Linked DNA regions of Homo sapiens: region 2 is linked to region 1. Evidence: promoter capture Hi-C in human tissues and cell types (Jung and others, 2019). All regions are on one chromosome and are shown on one strand. The core of a region is centred on a gene start or on the middle of the fragment in contact, and the rest is flanking DNA. Distances in the headings are between cores, read along the strand shown. Region 1 holds the start of RASSF8 (Ras association domain family member 8). Region 2 has its middle 150 kb from the start of LMNTD1.

What was found. Contacts are between HindIII fragments. The study calls those that stand out against the background at their distance.
Region 2: a contact is called between a fragment that was not itself captured here and the fragment with the promoter of RASSF8 in region 1, in 1 of the 25 tissues and cell types used here (thymus).

Annotation. Positions count from the first base shown.
Region 1 is chr12:25,954,878-25,962,041 of GRCh38, forward strand. RASSF8 (Ras association domain family member 8) reads left to right here and starts at 3,805. Exons shown (of 6, transcript NM_001394098.1): 1 at 3,805-4,271. RASSF8-AS1 (RASSF8 antisense RNA 1) reads right to left here and starts at 4,565. Exons shown (of 4, transcript NR_038228.1): 1 at 4,449-4,565; 2 at 1,762-1,887; 3 at 1,350-1,470; 4 at 1-364. RefSeq lists silencers at 3,417-3,906, 4,007-4,106, 4,177-4,226, 4,367-4,416. The HindIII fragment of the contact is 6,427 bases long and covers 353-6,779 here.
Region 2 is chr12:25,697,972-25,705,135 of GRCh38, forward strand. No RefSeq gene overlaps it. Among named protein-coding and RNA genes, the nearest start is that of LMNTD1, 150 kb to the left of the region's middle. The HindIII fragment of the contact is 4,202 bases long and covers 1,759-5,960 here.

The DNA.
Region 1 (7,164 bases), core at 2,555-5,054:
CTAAGACTTTGACCTTGATGAATTCTGATTCATTGACAATCCCTTCTTTATTTTCTTATTTTTATTTTTTCACTTTCTTATGGTCCTGAGACCACTCCTTTCTGAGTACAAGCATCTTGGCTGGCCTAGAATATAGTCACAACTGTGTTCCACGGACTTTACTGAAGGTGGAAACAACTGTCTTCCCAGCATCCCATCTGTACTGGTCCATTTGCATTGCTATAAAGGCAATTTATAATTCACAGTTTATTATGGCTCACAGTTCTGCAGGCTTATAGGAAGCATGGGACGAGCATCTGCTCCTGGTGAGGCCTCAGGGAGCTTCCAAACATGGTGGAAGGCAAAGGTGGAGTTGGCATATCACCTGGCAAGAACAGGAGCAAGAGAGAGAGGAGGAAGATCACAGACTCTTTTAAACATCCAGATCTTTCATGAACTCATTACTGCAGGGAAGGTACATAGCCACACAAGAGATTCCCCATCACCCAAATACCTTCCACTAGGTCCAACTCCAACATGGCGGTCACATTTCAACACGAAATTTGGAGGGAAAAAACATCCAAACAATATCACCATCTTACAGGCTGGTGTTGTCTGGTGGGCTGTTTGGGAAATACTGGTCTAGACACATTTCTCAAACTTGGCAATATGACTCCACTGGACATTAAAAAGGGATTTCCAGGTATTTCAAGATAAAGGGATTTATTCTCAGGAGCTGCAAACATAAGCTAGGTTTTCTTACAGTGTTAACATCTTGGTTTCAGTTACACGGGTCACCAGATTGATACAGATTTAGCTGAGGTAATAAATCACTGCTTCAGCAATCTTAACAGTCAAGTCAGTTATCTAACGATGATTTGACAAGTAATGAGGTCACCTGCCATTTCCTCCCATAAGTAATTCAACTGCATTTAGTTCATAATACATATGGCTAGAAAAGCATCTAAATCAATTCCTACGATCAGAGAGAGAGATGTCCCCATCACCATGAAGCAGAAGTTACAAAGAAATGGGGGAAGATGCTATGCAGTTGGCCTTAAACATAGAGAAAGGGACTATAAGCCAAGGAATGCAGGTGGCATCTAGAGGCTGAAAAGGGCAAGGAAATGGATTCTCCCCTCGATCCTCCAGAAGGAACACAGCCCACACTTTGATTTTAGATTTCTGACCTCCAGGTCTATAAGATGATCAATTCATCTCTCGATATGGCCTCCTCCTGTTCATTGCCACTGCTCTCCAGTTTAGACTCTCCCTTGGATCTGCCTCTTTTCTGAATCCATCCTCTCAAGTTGTTTTCTTAAAAATCAAATCTTATTATGTCACAGGGTTTGAAGTGCATGAATACTCACTGACTCTAGTTAGGCTCCTTTCCTGGAATATCATTAGAAACCAGAAGTAAGGGTTGTTTACAATTCCCATCAAGGACATTTGGTGTGATCTCAGGAAGGCTTAACAGGGATGTGATTATAGCTACCAAAAAAAAAAAAAAGCTTAAAACAAATTGTACTACACTCTGAAGAAAGAACGCATTAACCAAATGGGCTAGGTAGGGTAAAGATTTTTCTGCACTTATCCAGCACTGAATGGAGGCAAATTCACTGACTTTGGCAGCCATCAGTAAGACTGGAGGTGAGGATACCTGGATTTTTAGGAAGGGTTTTTCCTAAATAGTAGGTATTGTTATCCAATCAGGAAGTTCTGTCCTGATATAAATGCTCATCATATAAGAGTTAGTTATCAAGAGTCAGTCAACTTGCTCACCTCTAGATGTGGTAATACTGAGGTCCAGATCCTCCTGGTGATCAACACAAACTGGATTAAGAGTCAGCTACTCAGTCAGATCCTGAATCCTGGTCCAACGATAACCACACTCTTGCCTGCTACCTGCTTCAAGAAGTACACAAAAGAGGGATCACTACCACAGCCAAAGAAAGGAGGAAAGTTTTTTTTTTTTTTTTTTTTTTTTTTTTGAGATGGAGTTTCGCTCTTGTTGCCCAGGCTGGGGTGCAATGGCGTGATCTCGGCTCACTGCAACCTCTGCCTCCCAGGTTCAAGCGATTCTCCTGCCTCAGCCTCCCAGTTGCTGGGATTGCAGGCATGTGCCACCATGCCCGGCTAATTTTGTATTTTTAGTAGAGACGGGGTTTCTCCATGTTGGTCAGGCTGGTCTCGAACTCCCAACCTCAGGCAATCTGCCAGCCTTGGCCTCCCAAAGTGCTGGGGTTATAGGCATGAGCCACCGCGCCCGGCCAAAAGGCAGAAAGTTCTAAGAAGGAGAGGTCAACATTGGCAAATGCCACAAAGGGCACAAGATGGGAATTAAATTTTTCCATTAGATTTGGCAATTAAGCAATGGCTGATGTTGTTCAGTGGAGTGAAAGGCTGAGAAGGGAATGAGAGGTTAGGAAACATTCACCTTAAGGCTAGGCAACTCCTTTGAAAAGAGTCAAGTAGGGTTAAGGGAGGATCCATGCCCTCCAGGTTGACTTTTAAATCATATTCCCTTTGGTTTTGCATTTGAATCACAGTGAACTTTCTCCTCTCCAAATGTTGATTTGACAAATTTGAGTCTTACCATGGCTCTCTTCTCAGTCCACCTGCAGGTCAAGGAACTAATGAGGTGTGGAGTAACTAAAGGTCAAAAAACAAGAGGAAGAAACAAAGGGCCAAAAAACCCCAAACCTTAAATCAGGTCCTGAGTCAGATACGCTGTAACAAATTCTGCTTCAAGTTTAATATTCTTGTTTTGATGATGTTTAAAAAAAGAAAAATAAAAGCAAGTGTCTGGAAAATTAAAAGGCGGGGTGGGGGGGGGCATTTTAATTGGAATGCTTTCTTGTATCTCATCCACTATCCGCACCCCATCGCCCTGCAAATTAATAGCTGTTGCGGAGTTGGGGTATGTGTGACCACAAAATCCAAAGGCTGAATTTTGCCCAGTGCCTGAGTAATTGCATGCCACACACAAAAAAACAGTAGAATATTGAAAACAACATACACATCTGTATTTCCATATGAAAGCACCCGTTTCCTTTCTTGATTATCTGCTATTTTTAAAGGGGTTGGGAGTGCAGCGGGGCGGGGGGATGAGGCGTTTTTTCTGAATACGAGCCCAGCTCTTTCTAAACTTTTGTTACTCACGTCCGTTTGATTCATTTGCTGTGTTTTTTCTTTCTTTCTTTTTTTTTTTCCCCTCTCCTGCCTCTGTCATTGCCTGCTGCTAAGAGGGACGCTGAATCACAGCCACTGCAGATGAAAAGCAATTCAAACCCAGTCCTTGGAGGGGGGATGGAACGGCTCTTTTTGATTTTTTTCCCCTCTGCAGAAAAAGCCTCCTACTTTCCGGGTGACCGTAGAGGGCAGTTTGACAAGTCTCAGCCCCGGGCGATGGAAGATTTTGCCCGTGGGACCGTCACGAGCCACCGGTCATCTCCCCGCGCCCGGCTTTCGGGTCCTCAGGCCTCGGTGCGTCGCGGGCCAGGCGACAGCGGGGGGGCGTCGCGGGCCGGGCGAGCGTGGCCCGGTGGGCCCGAGGGTCGCGCCGAGCTCCCCGCCGCTTTAAAAGCTCCCACAATGCAGCGCTGGCGTCCCAGTTCCGTTACGAGGTCTCTCCCGGCGCCGGCGAGCGGGCCAGGCGCGGGCGGGGCGCGGAGGAGCGGCGGCTGAAACCCGAGCGCCCGGCCGAGGGGGGCGCCCCCGCGCCGCTCCTCTCGCGCGCTCAGCCGCTGCCCGGCGAAGGGGCGGAGCCGCCTGGCCGCCCGGCCCGGCCCGGCCCGGCCCGGCCCCCAGCCCGGCCCCCAGCCCAGAGGCACCGGCCGCGGGAGCGAGCGGGTCGCCGACTCCTACGCCCGCGCTCCTCCTACGCCCGCGCTCGTCCGGCGCCCCGCGCCGCGCCCCGCTCAGCGTCTGCCGCCCAGCTCCTCGCCCAGCCTCGCCGAGCCTCGCCCTTCCCGCCCGCGGCGGCGTTGGCGCTGGGGGCGGCTCCCGCGGCGTCTCTGCCGCTGGCCGAGCGCTCGCGCACCGCGGCACCCCCGCCAGTGGCGTCCACACTCACCTAGCGCGGGCCGGGAGGTGCGCGGAGAGGGAACGCCGGGGGGCCGGGGCCTCCAGCCGGTGCGGGGCGCGCGGCGCGGGGAGCGCCGGGGAGTGCCGGGGAGTGCGGCGCGGGGACGGGCGCTGGGCGGCCGCGGAGCTCCGGGTGCCGCCGCGTCCCCAGCGCCCCGGCCGGCCCCTCTGGGCGGCCTGCGGGGGCGGCGCAGTTGCGAAACTGAGTAAGTATTAACTTTACTTAGCGGCGGCGATCCGGGCTGCGCCGGGGACCCCGCCCGTCCCGCCTGCAGCCTCGGAGCTGCCCTCCGCCCGGTTGCCCCTCTCTCCGCACCTTGGGTACCTCGTCCGTTCCGCCCCCACCCTGCCCCGCCGCGGGCTCCCGCTCCCTCTGCGTTCACCTTTCCTGGTGTGTCACCCTTTGCGCCTCTCCTCGCGGCACACAAGCCGCGGACTGAAAAGTACGAGCTTGGTCTTTGCTTTTCTGCTTCCTCCCAGTGTCCTTGGCAAGGGAGTTTAGAGGCCACTTTTCTTGCAAAGGGAATTTTATGTCTGGTTTTTAAAATATTTTTTCCTCCGGATGGAAATCGGATGCTCGCTTGCCGGGTGGCGGTTTGGTGAACGCTTTTCTCCTCTAAAAAAATATTGGTTTATAGGTTTTTAAATTTCATTTGAACTATTAACCATCTGCATTCTATTCTCCTTTGCCGCCAGTCCCTTTGGGGAGGGGAGTCCAGAAGAGGGGACGTTCAAAGTAATTCTGACTTGCAAACTAGAAAGTTTGAGAGGGTAAATCGCACAAAGCCGGAAGATTCAACTTGAAGGGACGCGAGCTTTGAATGTGGGTCCTGGTGCGGCACTGGGTTTTAAAAGATGAGTACTTGGGTTCGGAATCCAGTGTTGCGTTGTTATTTTAGCATCATAGAGCCGCCTGGTGTTGCTAAACCACTACTTTCCCAGCCTCAAATGGCATCTTGAACAGTGCAACGTAGGATATATAATTGCGGGTCAATATTGTTGCTGATCTTTAGGGATTTAGAAGCGAAATGAATGCAAATCACGTCTCATAGCTGACTTAAACCTGTCAGGTTAGCCCTGTCAGGTTAGCATTAAAGCATTTCATTAAAAAAAAAAATCCTCTAGCCCTGTGACAGCAGGGACGAACATTTATGGATTTTCCAGTAGATTGTGGCTCAGCAATTCATTAGATCTGCTTTGTCCCCAGGAAGCATTTTAAAATATGTATAAATCTCTGCTTTTCTCTCCATTAGATTAACCACTCATTCTGGTAGGGGGCCCCAGGTAGTTTTTATTTTCTTTTTTGCCTTTCATCTTGGAGTTGCCAGGAGTTGCCATCATGTTATGAAGGAACAGAAAATGAGAAGCTTTCTTAATGGGTTTTCGACATCCTGTCCTTTGCCAGAGTGAGGCGGTAGTGAATGCCAGCCAGCTTTCTGCAGGGAGAGGTGCAGGGTGGACGCAAAAATCAGGACGCAGGAGACAGCACTATCATTTGGGGAAGTGGTTTGTGTGAGTTTTATCTTTTAGCGGGCATACTAATGGTACTTTTAATTTTATTTATCTCTATGAGGCACACTCCCCAAACCATAAAATTACACATGACCATCCCCCACTTGAAGAAGACTGAACATAGTTTGATGATTATTCTATTCAAGGATCAAGTACAACAAAATATAATTTGTAATACAGATGATAAAACCTTTCAAAAATCTCCCCCTTCCTCATTTTTTTCCTCAAGAGTCTCCAGGTGGTACTTTCTGTGATGGACACAATTGGCAGTAATGCACTGAGTTCTTTCTAGGTTTATTGATCAAATCTTATGTCTGGGCTTTAGTAGCTTAGGGGTGCATTAGAGGGCCCTGAGAGGGAGCAAATCATGGGGCTGTGCAGGCAGGAAAGGCACTTCACTTTGCAGAAGTGTCAGTGTGCTTCTGGAAAAAACAGTTACAAAGAACAGAGAGTGTTTAAGTTGTTTATAGGATGCATGTTTCCTGAATTTGGCATTTGGTTCAGATATTTGGTAATTACAGATTTAAAATTCGACATGGTTGTATAATTTGTTTTGCCTTTTATTTATTTTTTTAAGGTTGCAACCTTTTAACCTGAATCTTCAGTGTTTGGCTCTTGTAGGCTTCTATACGTGGTGACTTACGTCAGTTTTTGACCTGACTGCCTTGTGTTTTGAGAAATGATTAGTTCTTCAGGGTTTCTGACTCATTAATTGATCTGTTTTATGTTGATGTATATAATGACTTGGAAGTAAAAATATTGTTTGCCGTGGGATATTGTTGTCTTTTTCTTATGGTTAATTCCTGGCATAATGGCTTTGCTCCTTTATTATAAAACATTAAGATCTTAGATATCTTGCTAGTGTTCAAAACATTACAAAACTCTTTGCAAGTAAAAGTGGAGTGGGAATGGGAGTTGGATAGAAAAACATGCATCATAAATTAAAGATTTGGATTACAAAATAATATAACGTTTATTTACTCTTCTTTGATGCTAACTTGCTCTAACCCTAAATAGACTTAAAAATTCAAAGTGTAGAGAGAGTTTCCAAGTATTCTGTATAGTGGAAAGAATGTTTACCCCACTGCCAGCCAGACTTGGGTTGCACGTGTGACTTTGTCACTCCCGAGGTGAGTGAGCTCGGCCATGCCACTTCAGCCTCTGTGATCTACAGTTGCATTTCTGGAAAATGGGGATACCACTACTTAAAGGGATGCTATGGTGAGTAGAACATCTAATATATATTAGATGTGCCTGGCACATTTCAGCCAATAAATGACAACATCTCAAACTCCTTCAGAATTGAGCTCTTGGTCACTCAAACTTTCAAACTGTTCCCCCTCCATTTTTCATCTCATCCATCCAAGGAGTAGCTCACTCCACTCTCTCTTTTCTTCTATCAGCCCTAGCAAACCAGTCCATCATAAAGTCCTGCTGTCCATTTTTATTGCAAAATCTCTTTCAAACCGGTCTGATTTTCAGTCCCCACTATTCTGCCATCCTAATGCAAGCCACTGTACTGTATTATCTTTTTCCTTGGTGCGGTGCCTCCTGCACACACTCTGCACCCCTTGCAGTCTGTTTTAC
Region 2 (7,164 bases), core at 2,610-5,109, 260 kb before region 1:
CTGGCTGCTCCCAGGTGAGGACTGAGTGCAGCAGGGGCACTAAGACAGCCCGCTCCTGGGAGACTCAAGACTCACCTTTGACAGTCAGCTTTGCCTTGAGGACTCCTGTTGGCCTCCCTGAACCTTCCTTAGATTTCACGGTCATCTAGAATACTTGCATCCACTCTTCACTCCTTCTTCTCACTCATTCTGCTTACATTGTGGCCAGAAGGCTCAGTCTTCTCTGGGTCCCTTCCTTTGTTCTGTTGCAGGCATTTCCTGAATTATATATCATTTAACCATTTAAGCTGTCTTGGCATCTACATCTAGGAGGACCCAGGGTAACAAACACTGGCCGGGCACGGTGGCTCACGCCTGTAATCCCAGCAGTTTGGGAGGCCAAGGCAGGTGGATGGCTTGAGACCAGGTGTTCGAGCCCCGCCTGGGCAACATGGAGAAACCTCTGTCTCTAAAAACAATGCAGAAATTAGCCAGGCATCATAGCTCCCACCTATAGTCCCAGCTACTCAAGAGGCTGAGGTGGAAAGATCACTTGAGCCCAGGAGGTTGAGGCTGCAGTGAGCAGAGATTGCGCCACTGCACTCCAGCCTGGGTGACAGAGTGAGACCTCATCTAAAAAAGTATATATATATTTATATATTATTTTTAAACCCAAATATTGTAATTTTCTGACTCTTAAAATAATCAGAACACCTTTTTTTTTTAATTTGGTGGTACGTATGCACATAATTTATACAGTGATTGTACCACGTTGTTTGGCTGTATATTTAAAAGGAGAGAGCATAATGTACAGCTTTGTCCTGGCTCCATTTAAACTTGAGGTTGTATCTGCCTCCTGGAATATGTTGATGCAGATTGCACAGTGGAACCAACAGCTTAGGATCTACATCAGTGTAGTACAGTTAGACCCTTAGGTCATCAAAAGACTGCTGATAGAATGATGAATGATGAAAACAGACTTTGGTCACTGTTACAGGTTTTTGTGATGAGATGGATAAAGAGAAATAGAGTTACAACAGTGCTTAGGTGTGAGGTAATTGAGACTAGATCTTGCTGACAATTCAGTTAAGAAACTACATGGAAAAGCCAAAACCACAACTATATCGAAAGGGGAAAAAAATGGCAAAGAAACGACATAATAGAATAGTTGTCTTGAAATTTCCTGTTAAAAAGATGGGCTACTTATAAATAATACCCAACTTGAAGAAGATATAATGCAAGTAAATTTTAGTTTTCCTCACTGCTTCAGATCCACAGATGGGGGTCACTTCATTCTTTTATCCTTTTCCAGGGACAGGAATTTTATTTCCATGCCTCAAGCCCTGACAGCATTTTAGGTTGTGACAAAGGGGCAATCTCCCATGCTAAAACTTAACCCCATGCAGGGGTTTTGAAAATATCAGGGTTATATACATACTTGCAGTTCTGATTTATAACATATTCATGCACATAAGCAGACTACAAATATGTGTTCATAATACACAGAAACTCTGAAAACTAAAATATGCATCATAGCTATGTGTTAGCAGATACAATGGTCATCTTTCAGGCACCCCAGATGGTACTCTGTATTAACAGCATAATCTCTAAATTTGACGCTATGTAGTACAGACAATCATGGACCTGACAAGACTTCTTTTACCAACATTATATTTTGGTCTAAAAAGAGATGTTGTTTGTCTGATTAGAGGTGAGTCACTGGTGCTGAACAAGATTAGCTGTACATAATGTTCAAGAGACTCTCATTCTAAATAAAACACATGAATCCAGACATTGTTGGTAGATATTAACTGTTTGAAATGTTTGTGTTTAAACTACCTGTTCTTATTAAATATAACAATGGCTTAATATACAATTTAATTGCATTTCCCCCAAAGTCCATCAATTGAGTAATTGAAAAAAAATTTTAAAAGGGGTTGGGGTTGAAAAACAGGAAAAACTATGTAGGTATAATTTCCTCATTTCTTTTTTAAAAAATGATAGCAGGACAATAACTTGCTCTAAAACATGTGCGTATTGGAAAGGAGAAGGCAGGGATTGGGAAAGAATTAGAAAACCTGCTGGAATTCTTTGCAATCATCTTAAACCATTGTGTATATATATTTTTAGTAATGGAAAACATACACTACTACTAAGATATTTATGGGATTGCAATAGAAGCCCATTTTCCATCATGGTCTTTCTGTGTTAAAAAGGAAAGAGTAGGCTCCTCCCAAGTTTAAGTCCCCTTTTAGTACTAGCATTTGACAACACCCTCAGGTTTCAAGTTTTCACTTTAGCAGACTACTACGAAACTCTCAAAAATGTTGGTGTTAAAGAGAATACCATCTGGTAAGAAGCAGGTTAATGAACAAGGAGGACTAGCAGTAAAGAGATTTTAGATTCAGGTGCATTTTAAACCAAACTGAAGTTACTTTTATGATAGCAGGCAGATAAGCATCAGTGAAATACCACCAGCACCTCTGTAAAGGGAAAAAGAAGCAAGAATGCAATTAGGTACTGGAGTTGTCCATTTACTTAAATGGTTCCTGGAAAGGAAAAGGAGTCCTACGCCCATTGGATAGAAATGGAAACTAGCAGCCAATGGAACTAAATTGTGATTTTGTTCTTCTTTAAACCCTTTAAGAGAAACATTTTGTTATACAGATAATTACTAGCACCTCCCAAAGACAATTGAACTGGTGGCAATGCCCAGAACATTCTTACTCTACCTTAATGTCATCATTGATCAATTTTATTTAATAATTGTGGTATGACTGTTGTTATTTACACAGCTGGAGTAAAATGTCTCCCTGTGTAGCATAAAGCCATATTTTTGTGTGCTTTTGTTCCTTCATGAGTATCACTTACCAGCTACCCATAATGACATCAGTTAGACTAGGAGTCCCTTGAGCTACAAAATTCTTGGAGTCTATGAGGTGCAAAAGACATGGTTTCTTCTTATAGAAAACAAACAACTGGAGATATCAGTTCTTGGCCAAAACGAAGTACCAGGGAACTGATTTTCTCCACTTGAAATTAATGTAGGCTGGACTGTGGCTCACGCCTATAATCCCAGCACTTTTGGAGGCCGAGGCAGGCAGATCACATGAGGCCAGGAGTTCAAGACAAGCCTGGCCAACATGCCAAAACCCTGTCTCTACTAAAAACACAAAAATTAGCAAGCTGTGGTGGTTCACATCTCTAATCCCAGCTATTCGAGTGGCTGAGGCACAAGAAGGGCTTGAACTCAGGAGGTGGAGGTTGAAGTGAGCTGAGATGGCACTACTGCACTTCAGCCTGGGTGATAGAGTGAAACATTGTCTCTAGAAAAAAAAAAGAAAGAAAGAAATGTAAAATGTGTGAGAAAATAGTTTTCAGACATTGGACAACAGACCAAACCAAAGGACTGAGTTCCCTGTGAGAAGAGACACAGATGAGCCCTAGGACTGCACTTGCTTACCGCCTTGGGAGGGTGTCCCAGACACAGAGCAGGGATAGATCTAACGTAGCATGATAGTCTTGCTGTGTTGACGATACAGAGATCAGAGTTCCAGGTGACTAAGATGACTAGAATTTATGAGGCAGAGTGCCAGAGTGGAGAGAGAGAGAGACAGACACAAGGAGAGGCAGAGAGAGAGAGAGAAGGAGTGCTCTAGAAATCTGCAGAGGGGGCTGGGCATGGTGGCTCACACCTGTAATCCCAGCACTTTGAGAGGCCGAGGTGGTGGGCAGATCACATGAGGTCAGGAGTTTGAGACCAGCCTTGCTAACATGGTGAAACCCCATTTCTACTAAAAATGCAAAAAATTAGCCAGGCATCATGGTGAGCGCCTGTAATCCCAGCTATTGGGGAGGCTGAGGCAAGAGAATAGCTTGAACCTGGGAGGCAGAGGTTGCAGCGAGCCAAGATGGCACCATTGCACCCCAGCTTGGGCAACAAGAGCAAAACTCCATCTAAAAAAAAAAAAGAGAGAAAGAAAAAGAAATCTGCAGAGGGTTCCCTTTGAGTCTTTCAGCTGTGTGCTAATCAGTACATGCATGTGAGAATACTACCCTAGGCTAGGGAAAGCACAAGCTACAAGAAAGGAAAGGAATAGGCATAACAATGTCTAGAGCTCACACAGGGCTGGGAATAGTTTGTGTTCCCACCAGCCAAGTAAAAATATTGCCGTATGCATGGAGCATTGGGAAGAATTATCAGGAGGCCTTAGCGGTGGGGCTAAATTAACCCAAGACCAAAGGCTGCTCAGAATTTACTCTAGCTAAGCTTAAAATTGAGTCTCTAAAGGAACTAACTGATTCCAACTAAGTTAATTGTATGCAGATAAAAACCAAATGCTATTTGAAGAACCACAACAAAATCCAGCACCAACAATGTAACATTCACCATATCTAGCATTCAATTAAAAATTACCAATATGCAAAGAAGTAGCAAAAAAGGATAATTAACCAGGAGAAAAATCAATGAAGAAAACAGACCCAGGTATGATGAAACCAGCAGACAAGAATATTTAAATGGCTAGTATACATGTGATCCACATGTTGAAAATGGTAGAGTAGAACATAATCATGATAAGGAGAGAAGTGGCAGATATAAAAAGGATTCAAATAGAACTTCTGGAGATTAAAAAATGCATTATCTGAGATGAAAAACTTTATTGTATGGTTTTAGCAGTAGATTAGGCCTTACTAAAGAAAAATATCAACGTTAAGACATTGCAACAAAATTATCCAAAATTAAGCATAAAGATTTTTTTAAACTGAAAATGACCAGTGAGACAGTATAAAGTAGCCTAATATAGGCATAATTGGAGTCCTAGAGGATATCAGAGAGAGAGGGACAGAAAAAACTGTTTGAAGAAAGAATGGCTAACGATTTTTCAAATTTGCTGAAAACTATTAAACCACAGATCCAAGACGCTCAACAAACCCAAAGAAGAATAAACATAAAGAACACCACAGCAAGTCACATCATAATCAAGTTTCTGACAACTAACAATAAACAACCTTAAAAGCAGCCAAAGAAAAACAGACACACAACATACAGAGAAACAAAGATAAGAAAGAAAACAATTGACATCTTTCAAGTACTTGTCAATGTAGAATTCTATAAACAGTGAAAGTATGTTTCAGAAATCAGGGCTTAAAAAAGACTTTTCTCAGACAAACAAAGATGAAAAATAACAGACATCTGCAATTGGCTTCACTCCTTTGATATAATTTAAATTATTTGAAAAAAAAAATAAATAAATACTTGCATTACTTAGAATTAGCAAAGGATGGCCCAGGCTTTTCTGAGGTGTAAAGCCTCATCCTCCCCGACTTTTCCTCACACATAGTGCCCTAGCGTGGATTCATACCATATAACACGATGGTAGGTGGCAAACCTGTGCATTCTTTGTAGGAGTGCGGAAGGATCATCTCATCTCGTGTATCATATGTTACAGTGTCTCAATATAAAGGTGACTGCCTCCATAATATACAAATCATAGAAAAGAATTTCCCCCCGTTCTTACTGAAATTAAACTGTATCAGTTTCCTCATATCTAAAACAAGAATATTTGTCTAGGTGATAGCTAATGTTCCTTGTTTGTCTGAAATCACATGAGCCTAATAAAAATGCTATATTTGTTCATTCTTGCATTGTTATAAAGAAATACCTGAGACCAGGCAATTTGTAAAGAAAAGAGATTTAATTAACTCGTGGTTCCACAGGTTGTACAGGAAGCATAGTAATTCTGCTTCTGGGGAGGCCTCAGGAAACTTACAATCATGGTAGAAGGCAAAAGGGAGCAGGCATGACTAATGTGACCAGAGCAGGAGCAAGAGAGAAATTGGGGGAAGGTGCCACACACTTTTAAATGACCAGATCACATGAGAACTCACTCACTATAATGAAAATAGCATCAACATTCACTCTCATGATCCAACCACCTCCTACCAGGCACCACCTCCACCATTTGGGTGGTTTCTATCCTAAATGCAAGGTTTAAAGCAGGGTAGTAATATCAGCTAGTCTTCGTTTTTAAAAGACCACTAATTTTTGGTTAGAGCAGAGCTGTCCCATAGAAATATATTGAAAGACACATTGAAAATTTAAATTTTCTATTGGTTACATTTTAAAAAGGAAAATGAAACAAATCAAATTAATTTTGATAATATAGTTTATTTGACCCCACACACCCAAAGTATTATTGTATCATTATATAATCCATGTAAAATTTTACTATTAAGACATCTTACATTCTTTCTTCATATGAAGTGTTTGAAATTTAATGTGTATTTTATACTTACAGCACTTCTTAGTTCACACTAGCACCGTACTAGACAGAGAAGCTCACTGGAATGAAGTGGAGGAGACTGGAGTGGATGCAGATCCCAGTCCAGAGATTACTTCAGAAGTCCCTGAGAAAGATAAGGACTGCTTGGATTAAGATAGTAACAATAGAGATGGCCGAAAGTGAACAGATTTGAGATTAGTTTGAAGGGAATTAAGAACCATGAAATGAAGGAATGTGAGGAACAGCATTAAAAGGCAAATTACAACAGAAATAAACTGTAAGATAATTCTAAGAATGCTCCTCATTAATACTTTGGTCCTCAATTTTCTCTTTGTGGAAGGGCCTTATTAGCAGACTACATATTTTAACTGTCATGTATGATTTTATTTTCTTTCTTATACTTACTTTTATTTTTGATCAGCTACTTTTCTGTGTTGGTCTGCTTCAAAATTCCTGCTTCTTTATCTATTCATCAATTTATTTAATTTGACTTCATTTTACAATTATTATTGAGTGACTAATTTGTGCTAGGTCTTATGCTAAACATTGGGAAGATAAAGAAAAATAAGAAAAGATACTAGTCATAGCTTTTCTTCTTTCTATATTTCAAGGGAGGCCATTTCATCAGAGACTCTAACCTACAGCCTGCTGGGTAGGGGTTCTGGGAAGTGTAGTTCCCAGTCTTCTCCCCTGCAAGGCAAGGGAAAGTATAGAGAGTGGGCACAGGCTAAGTTGAAATATATACCTAGATACCTGTACATTAGACATGTTTTTGCCTCTGGGGTAAGATAGTGTATGGCTGTAAACCTCAAATACTCAGTTTCAATTTTGTACTCCCAAGTAAATTTTTCAGTTACATTTCTAACATTTATGTCTTGAATGATGTTATTGTTTCTTTCAC